3 separate regions of the Homo sapiens genome follow, and all the other regions are linked to region 1. The links are contacts of gene promoters, found by promoter capture Hi-C in human tissues and cell types (Jung and others, 2019). All regions are on one chromosome and are shown on one strand. The core of a region is centred on a gene start or on the middle of the fragment in contact, and the rest is flanking DNA. Distances in the headings are between cores, read along the strand shown. Region 1 holds the start of SPRR4 (small proline rich protein 4). Region 2 overlaps LOC105371446 (a long non-coding RNA gene). Region 3 has its middle 16 kb from the start of IVL.

What was found. Contacts are between HindIII fragments. The study calls those that stand out against the background at their distance.
Region 2: a contact is called between a fragment that was not itself captured here and the fragment with the promoter of SPRR4 in region 1, in 3 of the 25 tissues and cell types used here (H1 embryonic stem cells, adrenal gland and pancreas).
Region 3: a fragment that was not itself captured here is called in contact with the fragment with the promoter of SPRR4 in region 1 in 2 of the 25 tissues and cell types used here (aorta and liver).

The regions. Positions count from the first base shown.
Region 1 is chr1:152,969,015-152,972,385 of GRCh38, reverse strand. SPRR4 (small proline rich protein 4) reads right to left here and starts at 1,738. Exons shown (of 2, transcript NM_173080.3): 1 at 1,692-1,738; 2 at 1-515. The coding sequence starts at 495. The coding sequence ends at 256. The HindIII fragment of the contact is 6,838 bases long and covers 1,149-3,371 here.
Region 2 is chr1:153,020,582-153,023,952 of GRCh38, reverse strand. LOC105371446 (a long non-coding RNA gene) reads right to left here. Exons shown (of 3, transcript XR_922151.2): 3 at 1-10. Among named protein-coding and RNA genes, the nearest start is that of SPRR1B, 8.9 kb to the left of the region's middle. RefSeq lists an enhancer at 1-1,177. The HindIII fragment of the contact is 5,832 bases long and covers 1-3,371 here.
Region 3 is chr1:152,922,921-152,926,291 of GRCh38, reverse strand. No RefSeq gene overlaps it. Among named protein-coding and RNA genes, the nearest start is that of IVL, 16 kb to the right of the region's middle. RefSeq lists a silencer at 7-56. The HindIII fragment of the contact is 6,343 bases long and covers 1-3,371 here.

The DNA of each region.
Region 1 (3,371 bases), core at 489-2,988:
CTGGAGCCTGCAGAGAATGAGGTCTCTCTCACACCCACCTGGGAGAGCATCGGGGTGGGATATAGAAGAAGCCAAGGTGGTATGTGTGGGGAAGGGTACGATGGGAAGAAATCCTTACAATGCTTCCTTACATCTTGGGCAGGAGGAGATGTGAGAGGAGGGTAGGCTCAAGAGCTGGAGGGAAGAGGAGAAGGAAGAAGAGAAGGTTCCATCTGGTAGCCAGGATGGTGGATGATGGTAATATCCAGTCCATCCTTACTTCTGTTTGCTCTTGGAGGCTTGCTGGGCTGAGGGACACTTCTGCTGGGCTGGAATGATGGTGCCTTTCGGTGGGCATTGCTTCTTGACCTGGGGAGCACATGGATCCTTGGTTTTGGGTGCACATGTCTCTTGACATTTAACAGGGGGTGGCTGACAAGGCTGCTTCACTTGCTGCTGCTGGGCCCTCTGGGGTGGGCACTGCTGCTGCTGCCGCTGCTGCTGCTGGGAAGACATTGCTCTAGGAACAGGTGAGCCTAAAGGAAACCGGGCAGGGACACCATGAGAAGGGTGTTAAAAAGTAGCCTTTTAACACCCTTTTTAAAAAGATGGTTAAAAAGTAGCCCAGACATTTTACAAGGTCAAAGCATGCCATCTTAGCTGACAGATCTGGACAATGTCAACTGGCTCCCTTTGATAATGCAGACAATGAGAATGGGCAAGGATGTAGGGGCATGAGGAGAGGACAAAAACAGTCTCTGTCTTACAGGTAAGCATCATGGTGTGTGTGTGAGTGTGTGTGTGTGTGTGTGTGTGTGTGTGTGTGTGAGAGATCGGGCTGGAGAAGGGGTGTATAAGAATGCAGAGGCCTGATCTCTAATCCCTGCTCCACCCCTGACTCACCATGGGAGACTAAGGCAAGTCCTATGTGGCTACAGGATAGTGGTTCCAGCCCTCTACAAAGAACTGGGAAGCTTGAGGGCCAGCCAAATAGATCACTGGAGCCAAAGGATGACAGGAGGATGTTCAAAGGAAAGAGCGCTAGCCAAGAAGGCTCAGACATTGGTTCTAGGTCCATCCTGCCATTAACTTCATGGGCAACCTTCCTTCTGTGGGTCTCAGCACCCTTATTAGAAGGATGCTGGTCAGGAAGTTCCCTGAAGCCTTCCCAGCTCTGATGAGGGTCTCTGGCTATCTTTGTAGGCAGTGTTCCTTATGGTCTAAGTTAATGATTATAGATGGGAAGTGCAGGCCTCAGGAAGTAAAGAGGTGGCAATCAGAATAGGGAAGCATGAGAGCTGCATAGGATTGAATAAAATGTTCAATATACCTGTTTGCATACACCTGGAAGAAAAGTTTAAAGCTTACTGGTAAGCAAAATGCAGAATAGGGTGTGAGAAACCTTTAAACAGGGCTCGGAATTGCTACAAAATCCTGTAGCTCTAAATATCTCCTTCTTCAACAATAAAAATCTTCTTTCTGGGGAGTCAAACCCATGATCAGAAAATAAGTCATACTGAGCAATGGTGCGGAATGGAGATTAAACTTTCTAAGTACCGATTAGTGTGCCATTTCCGCAATTGTCAGAAGACTTGTGTCACTTCCCTGATTACCCAAGGATGGAAGAGGATCTTGGCCTAGCGGCTCAAAGGAGTTAAAGGAGAAGGAAAGCGCCCCACAAATCCCAGGAGAACAGATGAGTTCTCACTTACCAGAGGCGACAAGCTGGACCCCAGGAGAGGAGGCTGAGCCCTTGTCCACAGGCAGAGCCACTCCAGGAGCCTTTATAGGGCCCCCAACCTGCCCTGGGCACTTGGTGTGGTCCTGATTACCACCTCCCAGGGAATTCCTCACCCACTTCTCCCACCTGCACTTCCTTCAGGGACTTGCTTTGCTGACCTGTTTTGATGAAAGCCACCCACCATATATTTTCAGCATTCCAAGTCTCTGCACCTGAGCTGATTTAACCCACCAAAGGTGTTTGCTCAAACTCAGGGATTCAAGATCTTTTAAATATAGTACAAATTGAAGGAGCTGTTTGCAGACAGACAGTTATAAGAAATATTGAAGAAAAAAGAGGAAGAGGGAGAGGATGGGGTTTGGGGCAATTCTGACAAAAATGTGAACATCCCTTTTTCTGCAAATTGCTGCCATTTCTTGAGCACTCACTGTGAGGCTAGCACCAGGACCATCCGTCATGCTTATTATTTCATTTCATCTTCATGGCCCCTCTAGGGAAAGTGTCGTTGTTACCATTTTGCAGATGAAAAAAGTGAGGCTGAGAAAGATTAAACAGCAGAGATGGGATTTGAATTCAGATCTGGATGATTCAATGCCTAGCCCCAGGTACCACTCATCCCCCTTCCTCAATACACAGTGCAAGTGTCCTTCCTATTCCAGGGGGACAGTTCACGAAGTGTTCTGTGAGGCTTCTCTGGGGCACAGGTAGAAGATGATGTGAATGGTGCCCCAGCACACGGCGGTGCTGTCCCCATCTGCCCATTGGGAGTTGGGGTGCTGAGGAGTATTCGTGGTGGTTACAGAACATGGGATAGAATTGGCCCCTGTGGTAGACTTGCCACATAAAATACAGGACATTCAGTTAAATTTGAATCTCAGATAACAGAATATTTTAAAAGTATAAGTATATTCCAAATATTGCAGGAAACATACTCAAAAATTACTTGTAGTTCATATGAAATTCAAATTTCACTGGGCAGGCTCTATTTTTATTTGCTAAATACAGCAATCCTACTCAGGGCCTTATCTAGGTGGCAGGAAGGAGCCCTGGTCCTCCATTTAGCCTCCTAGGCCCTGGGATGGAGAAAGGCAGGGCCTCTGGGAAGCTGGTCCACCTCTAGCCCTCTACCCCAAAGATCGACCTCAGGATGCTGCCCAACAAGAGGCCATGCAAGGGCTCACCACTGCCATCACCAGAGGAAGGGGTAGGATGGCCTGAGAAATGATAGGAATACCTTAATGTACTTTCCAAAGCATTTTTCAAATCCCTCACCTCATTTAATCCTCATGACAATTTTACTGACAATTTAAAGAGGCTGGCCCAAAGAAGTTAAAGGACCTGCTCAACCACATGCAGCTGCTCAGGGTGGAGCTGGGTGGGTGCCTGGCCTGGGGCTCATTTCCACTCCATCACCGCAGTCAGCATCTCCATGGTGGACAAGTCACTGTCATTGGGTGGGGACCATGACTAATAACGTCTCCTGAGCTTTCTGTCTTATGTGGATGGAATACTGTTCATTTTTCAGGGTCAGCCTCACTTTAATCAGCCCCTTAATTTTCCCCTCCAGGCCAGACCTCCCCCACTTCCTCTTCCCAAGCCTAGCAACACTAAGAATGTAATATTCTGGGTTCCAGATTCTGGTTCTGCATTC
Region 2 (3,371 bases), core at 477-2,976, 52 kb before region 1:
GATGCTGGATCTAGAGACAAAAAAGCAGATTCAGTGCTTTGATTAAATAGGAATGAAGCCAAAGTCAATGCCAAACATCTTATTGCATGTCCCCAGAGGAATGAGAACCTTGAACTCCTGGGCTCTTCTCTTTCTTCCTGTTTTCTGAATGTAATATCAAAGGAAACTTTGATAATCCCCAAGCAGTTTCAAAGGGAGAGAGTAAAAGTTGATTTGTTCTGCTCCATATAAGTTGTGTCCTCTTAGCTTCCATTTTTCTTGGTATATCTAAGAGCATACACTAGTGAGGGAACCTAACAAGCCTCCAAGGACTGATGGGAGGCCCCAGATTTGCAATAATTTGGAAAGGTCAATAGTCTAAAGTCTACTCACTCATGCCTACCTTATACAGTGCCATAGTTCTCATAGGAAAACTCCATCTAAACCTCCTCCTGAGGCCCATACAATCCAACTGTGACCCTGTTTTCACACGTTGCCCACTGCACATGTTTTCTGGAAGGCTCTCCGTGCCAACACTACTTGTCCACACCTGCCCACCCCTCCTGGTTGTCCTCCCTGATGGTCTCATTTGTGAGATTCTCCCATGGGCCTGAAAGCTTAAGGAGATGAATAACTCCTGCCTTCTCAGGCCCAGTCCCAAGGTGCAAGGCCACTTGCATCAGCAGCATGCGTCAGCAAGATAGCAGAAGCAGGAAGAGAGCTGGCTGAAGGACACCTACCCCGGCTGGAAGACACGTACCCCTGAAGATCCTGAAAGAGGCCATCCAGGTACAACATAGCAGTTGCGTCAGACTAGGACACATCCTGTTTACAGGAGACTGTAAAACCTTTGCCCCGTCCTCACTTGGGACTGACGCCATTTTAGGCCTCAGCTTCCCTGCACCCAGGCGCTCATTAAAACAGCATGTTTTGTCTCGTGTTGTCTGTTGGCATGTTCTCGGAGTTTGAACTGATACAAGAACCTTACACTCATCTTCCTTATTTAGCCACAGCATGGTACATGATTTGTCCTCTTTACTGATCTCATACTCCCCATGCTGTATGTTTGCAAAGTTTGTGCACGTGTTGTGTTCTCTGATAGATCATAGGTTTGTGTAGCAAGGAAGAATTTAACTTTTTTTTTTTCTTTTTAAGAAATGGGGTCTTGCTATGTCACCTAGGCAGGCCTCAAACTCCTGGGCTCAAGTGATCCTCCAGCCTCAGCCTCCAATGTTGGTGGAACTACAGAATGTGCCACTGCACCTAGATTTAAGTTTTGAACATCCAAATTGTCTAATGCAGTGCCTTTGATGCTGACAATTCTAAAAATCATACAGATGATTAAAATATCACTAAAAGTGCCCTGGGCATGGAGTCTAGTTCATTCCTCCTGCTCAGGGAACAGCACTCTAAAATAAGTCACTTCCCTTTTCTGAGTCTCAGTCCCACAGCTGTAATCTGAGTGGGAAGTCAAAAAGAACTGCTTTAGTACTGTTGTACCCGAGGGAGTTAGAAAAACGCCACACTTTGAGACGAATTAAGAGTCCTTTATTAGCCGGCGACCGAGAGACGGCTAATGCTCAAAATTCTCTCGGCCCCGAGGAAGGGGCTTGATTAACTTTTATATCTTGGTTTAGAAAGGGGAGGGGGTGTCTAGTTAAAACAATTTTACAGAATTTAAGTAGTCAAAAAGTTAAAAGGATAAATGGTTACAGGAAAGTAAACAGTTCCAGGTGCAGGGGCTTTAAGACTATTACAAGGGGGTAGACACGGGGCTTTGGGCATTATCAATCAGACGAATTCTTGGGGACTGTGGATATAGCTTGCCACAGTATCTTATCAGTTAATTGCATTCTTGGATGTGCTGGGAGTCAGCTTGCACAAGTTAAGTCCTTGAGGAAGGGGCTACAAGTGAAAGAGCCAAGATGGAGTTTGTCTGGTTCTCTCAGCTAAGGGAGAGTCTATTCAGGTGGAAACAAGGCTAGGTGAAAAAGGAAAAACAAGGTTGGGCATTACAGTACCCTTAAGTACAAACTGCAAATCCATTTCAAATAACCATAGCCTTAGCATTGCAAGGAGACCCCAATCAAAATAAGATACAATTAGGTGAATATTAAACAGTTTCAGGTTGGAACTCTTACTTCAGAAGATTGAGCTCCCTGGCCTCTCAGGTCTGGTTAGGAGTCTCTGGCCAACTGGGCTTTTATATGCAAAATGAGCCCTGCTATAAGGAAGTGGATTTGGGGAGGGCTGTTTTACCTTCATTCCAGCTGTGAAACCAGACAGGTCTCAGTTAATTTAGAAAGTTTGTTTTGCCAAGGTTGAGGATGCATGCCCGTGACACAGCCTCAGGAAGTCCTGACGACATGTGCCCAAGGTGGTCAGAGCGCAGCTTGGTTTTATACATAAGACATCAATCAACACATGTAAGATGAATATTGGTTCGGTCAGGAAAGGTGGGACAACAGGAAGCAGAGAGGGGGCTTCCAGATCACAGGTAGATAAGAGACAAATAGTTGCATTCTTTTGAGTTTCTGATTAGTCTCTCCAAAGGGGGCAATCAGATATGCATTTATCTCAGTGAGCAGAGGGGTGACTTTGAGTAGAATGGGAGGTAGGTTTGCCCTGAGCAGTTCCCAGCTTGACTTTTCCCTTTAGCTTAGTGATTTGGGGGCCCTGAGATTTATTTTCCTACCATTCTTCCCCCCTTTTCTTTTAAAAAATCTTTTGGAGAAAGCATTTTAGAAGAAATTGAGTCTCTTTTCCCAGGTTTCATCTGATCTCTCATGGCTAGGATGGTTTATTCCTAGATGGGTAGGTCCTGAGTTATTAGGAAAGCCCATTTTAGCAGGTTGTGAAGTCTCATGTTGTATGAAGAGAAAATAGGGGGAGGAAGGGAGAAAAACAAACAAAAGGAAAACCCTAGAAAATCGATGTAGGACACATTACTCTGAAGTCCATATATTAGTAGGCAGGTATGAAAGTGGCTTATGTATGTAAATAGGTTGCTATTATTTTCTTCCGAAGTTTAAGTTGTCCACCTTCAGTTCGTAGGGCTTTAAGAAAGCACAGCTTAGTTTTCAGTGACTCTCAATTAGGAAAAATGGGGGGAAAAAGAAGGAAAAGAATTGAAAACATTATTTTGAAGACTTGTAGCCAAGAAAATTAGAATTTGGTCCAAACTGTAGAAAATAATAACAGTTGAAAAACATTAGGCAAGACTGGAATCTAACAACAGGTGTACTGTAGTTTTTGAAGCATAATAAGGATACTTAATTTTCAAAACAATAAGCCCTAATAAAAATAGCAAGAAGTCAATTAAATTTGTTTTTCAAAATTCTACAATCTATAAAATTTTAATCTTGACCATAAGATATGACTTCCAGAAGTCT
Region 3 (3,371 bases), core at 452-2,951, 46 kb after region 1:
CCTAGAGGGTAGCAAGAGATCACAGATACTTTGGAAGGCTAGCAGGCATCCTGAGTGCTCTTCCTCTTGGCTAGCTTTTACCAGTGGTGAGCCACCCATTATAGCTTCTTGCTCAAACTGTATTTTTATTCCTTTGTGCTAGGAACATCCCAAAAGCAACAAGCCAAAGCCTATCATTGTAGTCCTTTGGGGCAACCTCCTCATTTCCCCACAGACACAGTTTGCTTTAGCTGGTAAGTTAATCAAAATCAGTTAGGATTTCCTAGTACAGAATATGTGCCCTTTACTGGGTTTCATTTTAAGGGATTAAATGGGTTCAAGAATGCAAAATGCTTTGAAAAATTCCTAACACATAAGAAAGAAGCAAAGTCTGTTTTCATGGTCTAATTAGACATGAGTAAAAGGCACAGAGGAAAACAAAAGGAACTTCTGAAATCCCAAATATGCTGTGTGAACCACTGCTTTCATTTGCTGAGCCCCTTTCGTGTGCTAGACACTAACCTAAGTACTTTGCAAGTGTTATTTAATAACGAAACCAATGCTGAAAGGTCAATATTTTTGTCTGCATTTTAATAATGAAGAAACAGATCAGAGATATGATGTAGCCTGCCCAGGATCACATAGAATGTAAGCAGAAGAGCTGGGTTCAATCTCAAGTGTGTGACTCCAGCAGACATCCTTTTAACCTCCACAGCAGTGCCTCACCTGGTCAGCTTGTTTTGTTTGCTTATAAATTATTTATTATTTTTATTATTTCCGTTACCTAGCAGAATGGTCCAAATGTTGATTTCTGAGGCATAAGAGCCAATGTTGTCCTTCCTATGTGTGATATTGTGGCATTACCGTAACTTTTACTCCTGGACAGGACAGTCTGGAGGAGATTTTTAAATGCTTGGAACTAAACAGTAGCATAAATATTGCATATCAGAACTCACTAGATATACAGAAAAAGCAATAAAAGTAAGGAGAATTAAGACTTTAAAAGTTTATATAAAATATGAAAGGCTGAAAATTAATGATCTAATACAGGAAAGTGGAATTAAAAAATAAATGCTAAAGAAAGTATATGTAGGCCGGGCGCGGTGGCTCACGCCTGTAATCCCAGCACTTTGGGAGGCAGAGGCGGGCGGATCACGAGGTCAGGAGATCGAGACCATCCCGGCTAAAACGGTGAAACCCCGTCTCTACTAAAAATACAAAAAATTAGCCGGGCGTAGTGGCGGGCGCCTGTAGTCCCAGCTACTTGGGAGGCTGAGGCAGGAGAATGGCGTGAACCCGGGAGGTGGAGCTTGCAGTGAGCCGAGATCCCGCCACTGCACTCCAGCCTGGGCGACAGAGCGAGACTCCGTCTCAAAAAAAAAAAAAAAAAAAAAAGAAAGTATATGTAAGAAAATACTAAATATAAAATGAAAAATTAATAAAATAAAAGACAAAGATATATTATATGAATCGACTAAGCCAAACCGATTCTTTGAAAAGGTGAAAAAAATAGTCAAAATTAAAAATGTTGACCAAGATAAAAAAGAGAAAAAAGTTAATATGGAAAGTTAAAAAAGGGTTGTAACTATAATTAAAACAGAAATTACAAAAAGAACCGAATTTGTAATAAATCTCAGACTTAAATGAGAAAGAGAAAACATTAGGAAGATTAATCAGTTGCTGTTGAACTTTCTTACTGTAGAGAGACTTTATTCAAAAGGATTATTGCAAGGAGGGAAATGGACCATTGCAATAGGAAGACACTCTGATTATAAGGTCCATAAATATCTCCTGTCAAACTTTCTAGATGTCTACAGTCTAACATTTTTTATGCCCTTCCTCCTGTTTTCTCAGCTCACCATTTTACCCAGGCTGTAGCTATGGCAACCACCTATGCTGAGGAGTATCCCACAGCACCTCACTTCAGCTGCACTAGGTGTCTCTCACATCTGCCCCAGGGCTCTTGACAGCCAGGCTGTGGAACACTCACAGCCGACTACTCAGTCATGCTGGTGGAAGCACAGGGTGGAAACGTGAGGAGGTTAACATCCTCCAGACAACCACTGGTTACTAGACATAGGAGTACACAGAGAGCAAGCATTCTTTTCAGTATCTCCAGCAAACAGTTCTAATATATGTTCTAGATGGCCCTTGGAAACTTCAGGGTGCGGTTTAGCCTGTTATCCACAGGAATACACAGCTCAACAGCACACCATTGGACTGACTTTCTCTCTCTATTGTTTTATTCTTCCTAGTGGCCCTGACTTCTGCTATTTGGGGTCACATCTCAAAATAAACTACTTGTACCTATTCACTTGTCGCAGACTGTGCTTCTTCAGGGAACCAACCTAAGACAGCTCTCTGAAATGTTTTAAAAGTTCTGCACTGCTCGTTACACTTTTAAGTTGAAGTCTTAATTTTTTTTTAATTATATGTGTAGTTACAAAGGATGCAGTTTTTATACTGTATATGTTAGTTCACTTCAATAAAATTATTATATTATTTTAAAGACATTTTAATGGTAATTTAAAACATATAAATGAACAGAATAGTAGAATAAATCACGTGTACATCAACTAGGTTTAATAACTTTCAAATTATGGACAACGTTGTTCATTTTATCTCTCTTACCACTTGCCTCCTACAGTGTTACTTTTAGCAAATCACAGACTCATGTCATTTCATCTCTTTATATCTATAAATACTTTTTTCAGTAGTTATGTTAAATATTATCACACCTTGAAAATACTAGCTAACATCTTTATACTAGGAAATATCCACTCAGTGTTCACATTTCCAATTATGCTACAAATCATTAATTTACTAATGACTTATTTGAAATGACATCAAAATAATGTAGATACATTTTTATTAATTAATACATCTATATATCTCTTAAGTTTATTTTGATCTAAAGGTTCCCAGTTTATTTCTTTTGTCCCTTTGCAATTTTTTATTAAAGAAACCATACTATTTGTCATATGGAGTTTTTCAGTCTGGATTTTGCTGACTTCATTCTCATGGTGTTGTTCAACACCACTTAGGTTTGGGTATCCTTTTGCTTTCATTTGTTTCTATCTGATGCTTCTTCAGATGAATGTGTTTGGCAACTGAATTTGCTATGTCCTCACATGCACAAAGCCTGAAGTACCAGATATTTTATGTCTCCCTGGAGTGGCCCTTAGCCAATGACTTACAGGTACGAGAGTATCACAGCCTAGCTTTCTTGTCTCATATCAATACAGCTTTTCTTTTACATTCCAGAGTTTTCTTGCAGAATCAGGATGAAGCTACCTGCACACATGTTTGCCCAAAATGACAATCTGGTTTCCTCTCCTTCTCTGTCCTGCTACTCCTATGCCCTAACTAGTTTCTCCTGGAAGTACTGCTTT